2 separate regions of the Homo sapiens genome follow, and region 2 is linked to region 1. Evidence: promoter capture Hi-C in human tissues and cell types (Jung and others, 2019). All regions are on one chromosome and are shown on one strand. Each heading gives the region's core, a stretch centred on a gene start or on the middle of the fragment in contact. The rest is flanking DNA. Distances are from core to core; before and after follow the strand shown.

Region 1 (4,964 bases), core at 767-3,266:
TCCAGGTGAATCCACTAGAAAAAACTGCCCTTTTTGGGTAGATGGGGGCATGCCTGGTTTGGTGGGCAGTGGGTAGAGCAGGATCTGGATTTCCAGCCCCACTGGCCCCTTCCAGGGGATCTGGAACCCGCAGTGGAAACTGGAGAACCAAGAGTACGGAAAGAGAATAAATCTGGAACTGAGTGCTGAACTTCAAAGTAGGGGGGCCTCTATCTGGAAGCCTGGCCATCCACATTCCCAGGATGGGCTGGTCTGCCATAGATGACCTTGATCTTCACCCTTCCTCTCACTCCCAGGCCCTCTACGTCCTGCACTCTGAGTCCCTCTTGACTCTGAGACTCCTGGCAGCCTCCTTTCCCTCACACTTAGTTTCACAGTTTATAGAGAGTTTTTATACACATCATCTCATTTGATCTTCACAACACCAGAGTTGGAGGCAGATGAAGAAAGCGGCTCTCAGCTCTCAGGGGTTAGGGCAACAAGCTAAGAAGGGGTTAGCCAGGATTAAAGGGAGGTCCTGTCTGTGTCTGATTTTAGCACAGCACCTGGCCCTTTTCTCTCCATTATTTCTTCTCTCCTTTCTCTTCATTCTTTCTTGATATAGATAAGACTGATATTCTCCTCCACCAGGAAGCTCTCCTGGACTGAAAGGAACATGAACCAATCAGACTACCAGTGTGTTGTGTCAATGGGGGTCAGCGGTCATTGGTCAGTAAAGAGAAACATGGACCTAGGAACCTCCACGCGTCTTTCTGGGCCCTCAGATTGCTTCTTTCAAGTTTCCATATGGATTCCTCTCCATCCACAGGTCCTTTCCTCTTTGGTAGACTGGCGACCCCAAAGGAAGGCTCAAGGCTCTCCCTCCTCCTTCCCCCTTCTTGAGGCCTCCTGGACAAGGTGGCCATACCTAGAACTTGGACCCAAAGGGAAGCTGAGCGAGAATTTACTTGAATGGGCAAGAACAGAGCCTGGCTGCAGAACTGAGAGCTCTCAGAGACTGACGCCTGAGGCAGGGACCAAAAACCGAGAGCAGAGGCAGGCAGGAGCAGCTGTGGGATGGGGGCTGGGTGGGGTGGGCAGAGGGTGAGAACTTGCCTGGGAGTGGGTAACTAACTACTCTCAGTTAAGTTTGGGCTTCGCTGCCAACCCGCTAGGCCACCTTTACCTGTGTAGTTCTCCTTATTAAGCCATTTGCACTAGGAGGAGGTTGGACAGGACTGTAATAACAGTAGCAATAGTAATTTATTCAGCATCGGCGAATCAATGATACCAGGGAGAAACTACTATGGGGTGAGTGTACCATTTTTATTTAATGCTGCTGTGAAGAGACCTGGGGGCCGGTACTATTGTTCCCTTGTGCAGATGAAGAAGCTGAAGCTCAGAGAGGCTGAGCCACTTACCCAAGCTCACAGAGCTGTGGCACAGCAGGGACTGGAGCCAGGCAGTCTGATATTTTAAGTTGCCTCTGTCCTGTAAGCACCACCATCCCCTTCCTGGTCTTTCTCCGGGGGCGGGGGGGTCACATTGGAGGACATCCCGACAGGCACCCCAAAACTAGCTGACCCTCCCAGGCCTGGGCGGTAGGGGCAAAGAAGAGCCCAAGGAGGGTCTGAGACTTGCCTGGTAAGGAAGGCTTCTTGGAGGAGAGGGAAGACAGGCTCTGATACACAGGAAATCTTGAGGACCTAGGGAGAAGAAAGAAGGCTTTCTAGTCCTGGCTATGATGGAGAGACTGGAAAGAGGGTGGTGAGCCCAGGAGGCCCAGAGTCAGAGGAGACGGGGATGACAGGGGGCTGAGGGCTCCACCTCAGCGCCCCCGACCCCCGCCGCTGGGATTTCCCGCCGCAGCTCCTGCTCCAGTCTGTGCTGCGGGTGGGGTCGGGTTGAGCAGCCCGGCGCCCCCCACCGCGCCCCCCACCGCACCGCCCTCGATCTAACCCCGCCCCCGGGCGCTCATTGGCCTGCAGCACCCCCTCCCCAGCCTGTGAAGTGAGCAGGGGGAGGCGGTGGTCGGTCGCCTCCCTCCAGCGCCCAGCCTGGCTTCGCGGCGGAGGCGGCGCCTCTCCCGCAGGACGGAGCCAAGCTGGACTGCCGCGCCGCGCGGGGCGGGCAAAGGGGGCGCTGCGCTCGGCCCCGGGCAGGGAGTGACGGCGGCGGCGGCGGCTCCGGGCGAGCGTGGTCCCCGCGTGCGCACACGCACACGCCGCCGCGCAGGGACACACGGACCCCGGCCGCCAGCCGGCCACACAGGCGCGGAGACCCGGCTCGGCGCGCGCTCCTCGGCGCACACGCTCCCCATCCCCGCGCCGCGCGGGCCGCGGACTTGCAGGCTGCGCGTCCTTTGCGGAGTCTGCCCCGGCCCCACGGACAGGCCCCGCAGTGAGCAGGTAAGGGTCGCCCCGCCGCGGCTGCCCCTCCACGCCTCGGCCGTCTTCTCCCCCTCCAGAACCTTCGCCCAGCCGGGACCTCGGATCCCCTCCTCTGGCTTGGCGGTCTCCGCCAGCCGCGACCTCCACCGACGGAGAGCGGGCGAGGGCCGGCGCCAGGCAAGCCTCCCAGATCTGAAATGAAGCCCCCTCCCGCCGCTGCGCCCTTCCTGCGCGTCAGGCTGACACCCCCCAACCCAAGTGTCTGGCGCTGCGCTCGGGGCGGCCGATCGCCGCAGACTGCCGGGGTGGGGGTCGACCTAGCTATCTCACGCCCCTCCTGATGCGGAGAAGGGAGACCAGGGGGGCAGGCAAGCCATGCGGCCGGAGGGACCCGGAGGGACATGCCTCCCTACCCTTAGGTGGACGGACGCACCTACGCGGATCGGGAAGGCAGGGCTGGAGGGTCCCCCGGGGCTAGGTACCGCAATCCGCACGGGGTTTGAGGGGTGGGCAAGCAATGTGCTAGGTGGGGGTTGGGGTAGGGGCCAGTGTAGAATGCCCCTCTGTGGTGACACATCCGGGATTGTTCAAAAGAGTGTCGTCTTCGTTTCCCGTGGCGCGGAGGGGCTGGGGTTGGGGATGCCAGGGCTTCAGTGGTCCCCAGAAGAAACGCCCTGCGGGGTCTGTGGGGAAACGCACCGGCCTTCCCAGGTTGAAGTGGGCCCGCTGAGACCCCTGCCTGCCGCTTTAGAGGCAGAAGCTCCTGCGGCGGCTGCGGGGGGCGGAGGCCACATCCTCGGCGGGACCTTGGCAGGTTAGGGGGCTCAGAAGGGACAGGGGAGCCGATGGATGCAACTAGACCCTCAGGAGGGAACCCAGCCGGAAGCCGATTGCATTTCACGTGGAGCTGAGGAGGGGAGCCTCACCCCTGGATGGAGCTCAGCCCCTTTTTGGAAGATGGGGGTGGGGTGGTGGACACCTGCTAATTCTTCCGACCATTTTTATGTTTTTGAGTGCAGGTGCGTCAGACTCCCTTTATCTTCCCCAGCCTTACAATGTCCCGCAAAGCCCCCCTGGCCCTCTCCAAGACACAGCATTTGGCTCTTCCCATGAGCGGCCCTGGGGAGGAGTTGGGGGATGGGAAGGGGCTGGACGCAGCATGTGGAGGGCAACTTGCCCTGGGACTGCAGCTGGCCAGAGGCAGACAAGCATCCTGAAGGTCAAGCTAGAAGCTTTGAGTGGCGGTAGGATTCCCAAGCAGATGGAAAACTATGTTTGAGCCTTTGGGGGCAGGGGCAGCAGGCAGCACCCAGGTTTTCTCAGGAGACCCCAATTAAATGAGTTTGGTGCTGGGTACAAGTAGCACTGGTGGAGTCCCCAGTCCTAAGCTAAGTTCTGCTCCTCACTGACCTTGGGGAGGGCAGGCAGAGGCACCAGCTTGGACACAAGCCGAAATCTGAACATACAGATTGGAGGTGGAACACGCTGAGCAGGCCCTGGGCCAGCTCTTCCAACTGATCCATCAACAAGTGTGTGTGGGGTGACGATGGAGGCGGGCCTGATACTTTTCCTCTTTGGCCATGGGTGGTTCATGGGTGGTTGGGTGTCTGGGACAAGACCCCCAAAAGTCTGTTTGTCCCCATGTGTGGTGAGGGGAGGTGTCTGTGGGGAGCCTCTGAAAGGATCCCTCTCCTGCACTCTCGGGACTGATCTAAGCTAAGGGGTGCATTAAGTCCTGTTTTGTATAAGGTTCAGGCTGGCAGGGGATTGATTGGAGAAACACTTTGGGACCCATGGCTTTTCACATGGCCACCTCTCTCTGTTGTGCGTCAACTTTGGGACACTCCCTCAATTTGTGTCGAATAAATAAATACACACATGGGAGTTTATAGTATATGTGGCTGAGAGGCTAGGAAAGCTAAGGCCACAGGGTGGCTTTTCTCTTGGGGACAGGGCTTAAGCTGGAGTGTCCCAGGTTGCCGCCCTCCCAGGGACAAGCATTTCATTGACCTGGGGCTGGCACTGATTAAGTGGAGGACATCTTGTGCTGTCTGCCACAGGGCAGAACCAAGGTGTGCCAAGTGCAGAGCCGGAGCTTAGCTCGGTGCCAGGAAGGCCTTGCTTGCCTGAGACCCACCCACCATGGGGCTGACACTGGAGGTGACAATGAGTTTCCTGTCCTGGGCAGGTTTGTGAGCAGAGGGATGATGCCCCAGACAGGAGCTGCCAAGTGGCTTTCCACCCTGGAAGGCCTAGAGGCCTCAGAGACCCTCAGCCTTCCCTGAGGAGAGGAATCTGATTCCAGGGTCTGAATGAGTTGGGCTTAGTGGTCCAGCCGCCTGGCAAGATGGAGACTGGAAACTCCTCAGCTGCGACGTGTTTGTACCGAGCTCTGGATGCCGTCAGAGGCAAATGGTGACAGCCACCCCCACAGTGACACACAGAGAGGGAATGACACACAGCTGGGACGGCATATAGGCTTTCTATGACACCTGCCAGAGAGCTGGGGCACAATAGTGACAAGCAACACCAGAAAGACAAATGGACGTTGAGACACACCCTCTCACACAGATCTGGGCACACCCGGGGACTCAG
Region 2 (4,964 bases), core at 1,568-4,067, 55 kb after region 1:
TAGAGAATAGCTAAGTGCATACGCTGTGCCAAGTACTCGCTCTGCGTGGTGTTCTGCATTGCTGTGTATGATAGTATCTGGCCCAAGGAGGGCAGATTGGGGAGATGATGGTGGACAAGGATGGCACAGGTCTGTTCTGTCCTGGAGGGTTCCTACCCTCAGAAGCCTGCAGGATGGTTAGGAGCTAAGAGAAATTCTAGGGCATTCAGGGAAGGCTTCTTATAGGAAGTGGGATAGAGCTGGCCTTTGGGAATGGGAAGGATCTGACCAAGGGAATGTGAGATCCAAAGCTAGAATGTATCTGTGGGACAGGACTTGACCACCAGCCACGTGGCCTCATGGGTGTGCCCATCTTGGTAGAGTAGAACTGTCCCATCTTACCCCAGATCCCTGGGCAGGTGCCCCCATCCAGGTCATGGTGTATTTCTGCTTCCTAGAGTCATCCCCTCCATGCCCCACACAGCATTTCAGAAAGTCCTTTGCTAGCATCCTCAGGCTTATTTTCTCTATTCCCAGGGCTTTGTGGTGGCTGTTCTCTACTGTTTTCTGAATGGTGAGGTAAGACCTTGGCCCTCTGGCTTCTTGGCAGTGGAAGTGGGGCTTTCTGGGGAGCAGACAGGGGAACCACCTGTTGGCCACATGGGACTGACTCTTCAGAGAGGGCTCTGCCAGGCTCCCAGCACTGAGAGGAGGGGCTGGTCATACAGCTCCTGGCATTGTGTGGTGCCAGGACCTCCTGATACCCACACCCTGTGCTGGAATCTGTCCCACTTTGCCAGCTGTGCAGCTAAGGCCCCACCCAAAGAGCAAAGCTCCTGGTAAAAGCGTCGGCTCTGCTGAGCGCAGATCTCCCTGGGAGGGTCCTCTCCATAAGACACTCCGTGGTGAGGAGGAATTGACAATAAGGAAGGGTGGGGCACAGGACATAGGACCTACAGGCCATGAGGCTGTGCTAGGCAGAGCTGCTGAGCCAGGAGCTGCCTGGCACTCAGGGTTGCCCTTAACTGGCCAGCCAGCCTGGCCCAAACTGTCCCCTGGTAGAAGGGAGACTGTGAGAATTTGGAAGAGACCCCAGGGAGAGACCTGGAACCTTCTATTAATACTCCATTGCCAGAGCTGTGGTTCGGGGGCTCCCTCTGTACCCTATTGGGGTAAAGCGCTTGAGCACAACCCAAAACAGAGGTGCTGGGGCAGCGGTGGGGACTGAATGGCTAGGGTGGATTTGAGAGTAGGCGGGAGTCTTTGCACCAGTGCTTGGGTCTTAGCTGCATCACCTTGGCAGGCTCCTCCCTCTTTTGCATCTGAGCAACAGAGATTGGGCTCTGTGATCGCCCAGACAACCTACAGAAGGATCAGATTAGGACAGACAAGAGAGGCAGAAAGGGCCCTGCAGGTAGTGGCCAGGAGAGCTTAGAAGTGGGCATGTATGTAGCTTGTTCAGAGCTTGCAGTGAAAGTAGGAGCTGGAACTGGAGAGGGTGGGTGTAGGCGCTGCTTCCAGTTGTGCAGTCTGTGCACTGCACGAAGGTGCTTGACTGAGAAGGCACATGGAGGCTGAGACTCAGCATGGCCCCCACTCACCATGCTAAGAGCTACATGGGTGTGTGTTTTCCCAGAGGGGTGCATTATTTAATGGTTCTCAACCCTGACTGGGAAGCTTTAAAAAATATGATGTCTGGGTCTTGTGCAGAACTTTTGATATAATTGTTCTGGGGTATGGCCTGGGCATCTGGAATTTTTAAAGCCCCCCAGGTAATTCTAATGTGTAGCCCACTCTTACTGGTCAGCCAAGAGTGGGGATCCTTTCCTGATCCACCTGCCCTGTGGGACTGCTTGTTAAAGATTTCCTGAAGGACCCAATGGACTATTCTCTGCCTGGCCTGAAAACAACAGGGAGCCATTAGAGGGCCTTGCTCAGAAAGTGGCAAGGGAAGGGGCTGTTCCGGTCAGCTCCTCAGAGGCTTCCTTGCCTACAGCTGCTAAAAGCCCCCACTGGAGACCTTGAGGGCCGCAGGCTGCAACTGGGGAGTGGGGAGGGTGCTGAGGGTGGCACTGCCAGCCTGGGAAGGGCCCCAGGCCAGGACAGGGCCTGGAGGCTGCAGAGGATGTCCATCTGGAAGTGACCGCCCAGTTTGCTCCCTGCAGGTACAAGCGGAGATCAAGCGAAAATGGCGAAGCTGGAAGGTGAACCGTTACTTCGCTGTGGACTTCAAGCACCGACACCCGTCTCTGGCCAGCAGTGGGGTGAATGGGGGCACCCAGCTCTCCATCCTGAGCAAGAGCAGCTCCCAAATCCGCATGTCTGGCCTCCCTGCTGACAATCTGGCCACCTGAGCCATGCTCCCCTCCTCCTCCTCTCCTCCATCCACAGGCTGGGACCGCAGGCAGGTGCCAGCCCACGCATGTTTGCGCCTCTTCCCTCCCCTTGGGCAGGCCCTGGGCTGGAAGCTTGGCTCCTGAGGGGGGAGAAGGAGGCAGGGCACAGACTGGAATTGTCCCCTCCTTGTTTTGGTACTGGTCCCACCCACTGTGGTCCCCTGGGCCCTGACCCCAGACATGTAAATACTCCTCAAATTTGGAAAAGTTGTCCCATCCCTTCCCCCTTTGCCCCAGTGTCCCTGCTCACTTCCAGTCAGGTCTCAGCTCCACCCCACTGTTTCTTGGTCAGCCTCAGTGATGGCCTGACCCCAGCTGTGAGGCCTTGTGAGCTAAGGCTGAAGAGACCTTGCCTGTGGGAGCTGGGGTGGTACCTGCCCCAACAGCCCCCCATCATCTGATTTTGGGTGTGACCCCTCGAGTGTGCATGCCACCCTGGGGCTCTTCTCAGTCCTGGGCCCAAGTCCCTGAAGCCTAGCAGAGGGCCAGCTCGGGTGGCCAGAACACCCCTTGGTGCAGGCCTCCTGGCACTCGCCTGGCATCTTGGTGTCCGGGTGCTCAGCTCCTGGGTCCCAGGGCAGTGGGACAGCTCCCAGGCTCTTCTCATCAGAGACTTCAGTTTGGGTGGGGAGTCTGCAGGTCAGGGAAGGTTCTGGTGCTTTTCGTTTGATCCAAAAGGAGCTGAGAGCCAGAAATGTGGCTGTGATTGCGAAAGAGACGGAGTTTGGGAGACCCATGGAAGAAAACCTTCGCCATCTCCATTGTTTTACCCCCAGCTCAAGATGGACAGGGTTCTTCTGGTCATCTCCCTTCCACCTCTTCCACCCTCATGGATGCCTTCCAGAAGCTGTCTCCAACCATGCACACCACAGAGAGCCCTTAAGCCCTCCCCTCCCCATTTCCCCTAAGTCAAAGCCATGACTAGGATGTACCAGCCACCTGCCTCTGATGTCGGCGAATCCTGAAGCACCTGCACCCGAATCTGGGGCCCAGGGCTGCCCGACCCCCACTCCCATGGATGATGAGGAGCCCCAGACACCAGCTCCTCTGGCCTGGACTCAACTATTGAAATCTCTCTGAGACCTCTGCAAAGATGTCCCTTTTATGCCCTTGACCTTGACTCACCATGGGCTGCTGGGGTGTCGGGAGAAGCCACACCCAACATGCCCATTAGCAGAGGCTGCTGCTGATGTGGCAGCTGCTCCCTACCACCCGCCCTGGCTCCCCAGCTGCAGGTTGCACACCCTCAGCCTGAGAATGTAAAATAGGGCAGTGCCCAGCTGGGGAGGTAGAGGAAAGTGCTAGAGTACATGGTCCGTGTGTGGCCTAGCTCATTCCATGTCAGCATTTGGTGTTACTCCTGTCCAAATTCTGTTTGCAGACTTGTTTCATGATGATGCTCTGGAATGCTTGGGGACTTTGGGTGGAGGAGGATGTTACTTCATTTTATAAAGAGGAAGGGGCCTGGGAGACTTGGGAAAATGTTTCTGGAGAGGCTTTCAGAGTGGCTGGAAAAGGCTCTTGTTGCTGTAATTTAGAGAGGAGCTCTGTGTCCTTGGCCAGTCAAGTAAGTTCCTGGATCTTTGGCAAAGCCAGAGGAAGAAAGGAGCTACCTGCCCTTTCCTGGGCATGCTTGGTGACTCAGATTGATCTTGGAGTGTGCAGTGGCCCTTCTACCCTGCACCTGACCTCATGATCCCCTCCACCTGCACTGGTGTGCATTACTGAAGCAAGGGTCCTGTGGACATCTTGCATTTTGGGCACTGCTAGGGGGTCTGGGCTGCTTGGAAGGAGCCATGGCCTAGGGTTCAGGGAACTAGACTCTATCCCAGTTGGGTTCAGACTGCTGTGACTGTGGACACGATGCTCCTTGTTCTGGGCTCCAGTTTTCCCATTTGTGAGATGAGGCAACTTCCAATGCTTCTCTAGGCCCTGCACGTAAGTGATTTTTCCAGTTCAAAGTCAAGACAGGTAAAAGGGCATTCATCATTGTGCCTCATATCAGGTTTTGATGAATATATGTGTGTGTGTGTGTGTGTGTGTGTGTGTGTGTGTAGAGGGATGGACAGGATGCTGTTTATTTTCCCTTTCTTGGAAATGGACCTTCTGTCCCTTCCATTTGGACACCACAGTGGAAGCTGGTGGCCTGGAAGGAAGGATTAGGTCATGGACATTTGAACAGGTGCCTTGGGCATGATGTATAGATGCAGTCATATATACCTTGCTGGGGTGGGGTGCCACCTCCAGTGGCCAGCTCCAGATCCAAGGAGCAGCCCCCTGGGGATGGACCCCATTCATTCATCATGACTCCCAACAGTTTTCATTGTGGAAGAAGAAACTTTGGCATTATAGAGACATCATCACAAAACAGTAAAAACAAAATCAACCCTGAACCCCATGCACTGTGCTGCTTCCTGAGCCTGGCCCTGCATCCTCATAGAGGTGCCGGGTTCCTATTGGTTAGTTGGTTGTTTTTCCGTCTGAGTGAATTTTTGCCAGTCTTGTGAGCAGATGTACCTGATGTATTCTCAATGTTCCAAGAGGTTCTGGCCTTCAGGGTCACAGGCAGTAGGGGGACAGCATAAGGTC

What was found. Contacts are between HindIII fragments. The study calls those that stand out against the background at their distance.
Region 2: a fragment that was not itself captured here is called in contact with the fragment with the promoter of ADCYAP1R1 in region 1 in 2 of the 25 tissues and cell types used here (dorsolateral prefrontal cortex and spleen).

What each region holds. Positions count from the first base shown.
Region 1 is chr7:31,050,292-31,055,255 of GRCh38, forward strand. ADCYAP1R1 (ADCYAP receptor type I) reads left to right here and starts at 2,017. Exons shown (of 16, transcript NM_001118.5): 1 at 2,017-2,387. The HindIII fragment of the contact is 8,235 bases long and covers 1-4,964 here.
Region 2 is chr7:31,104,352-31,109,315 of GRCh38, forward strand. It overlaps ADCYAP1R1 (ADCYAP receptor type I), which reads left to right. Exons shown (of 16, transcript NM_001118.5): 15 at 517-558; 16 at 2,145-4,964. The coding sequence ends at 2,333. Among named protein-coding and RNA genes, the nearest start is that of ADCYAP1R1, 55 kb to the left of the region's middle. RefSeq lists an enhancer at 1,710-2,505. The HindIII fragment of the contact is 5,427 bases long and covers 105-4,964 here.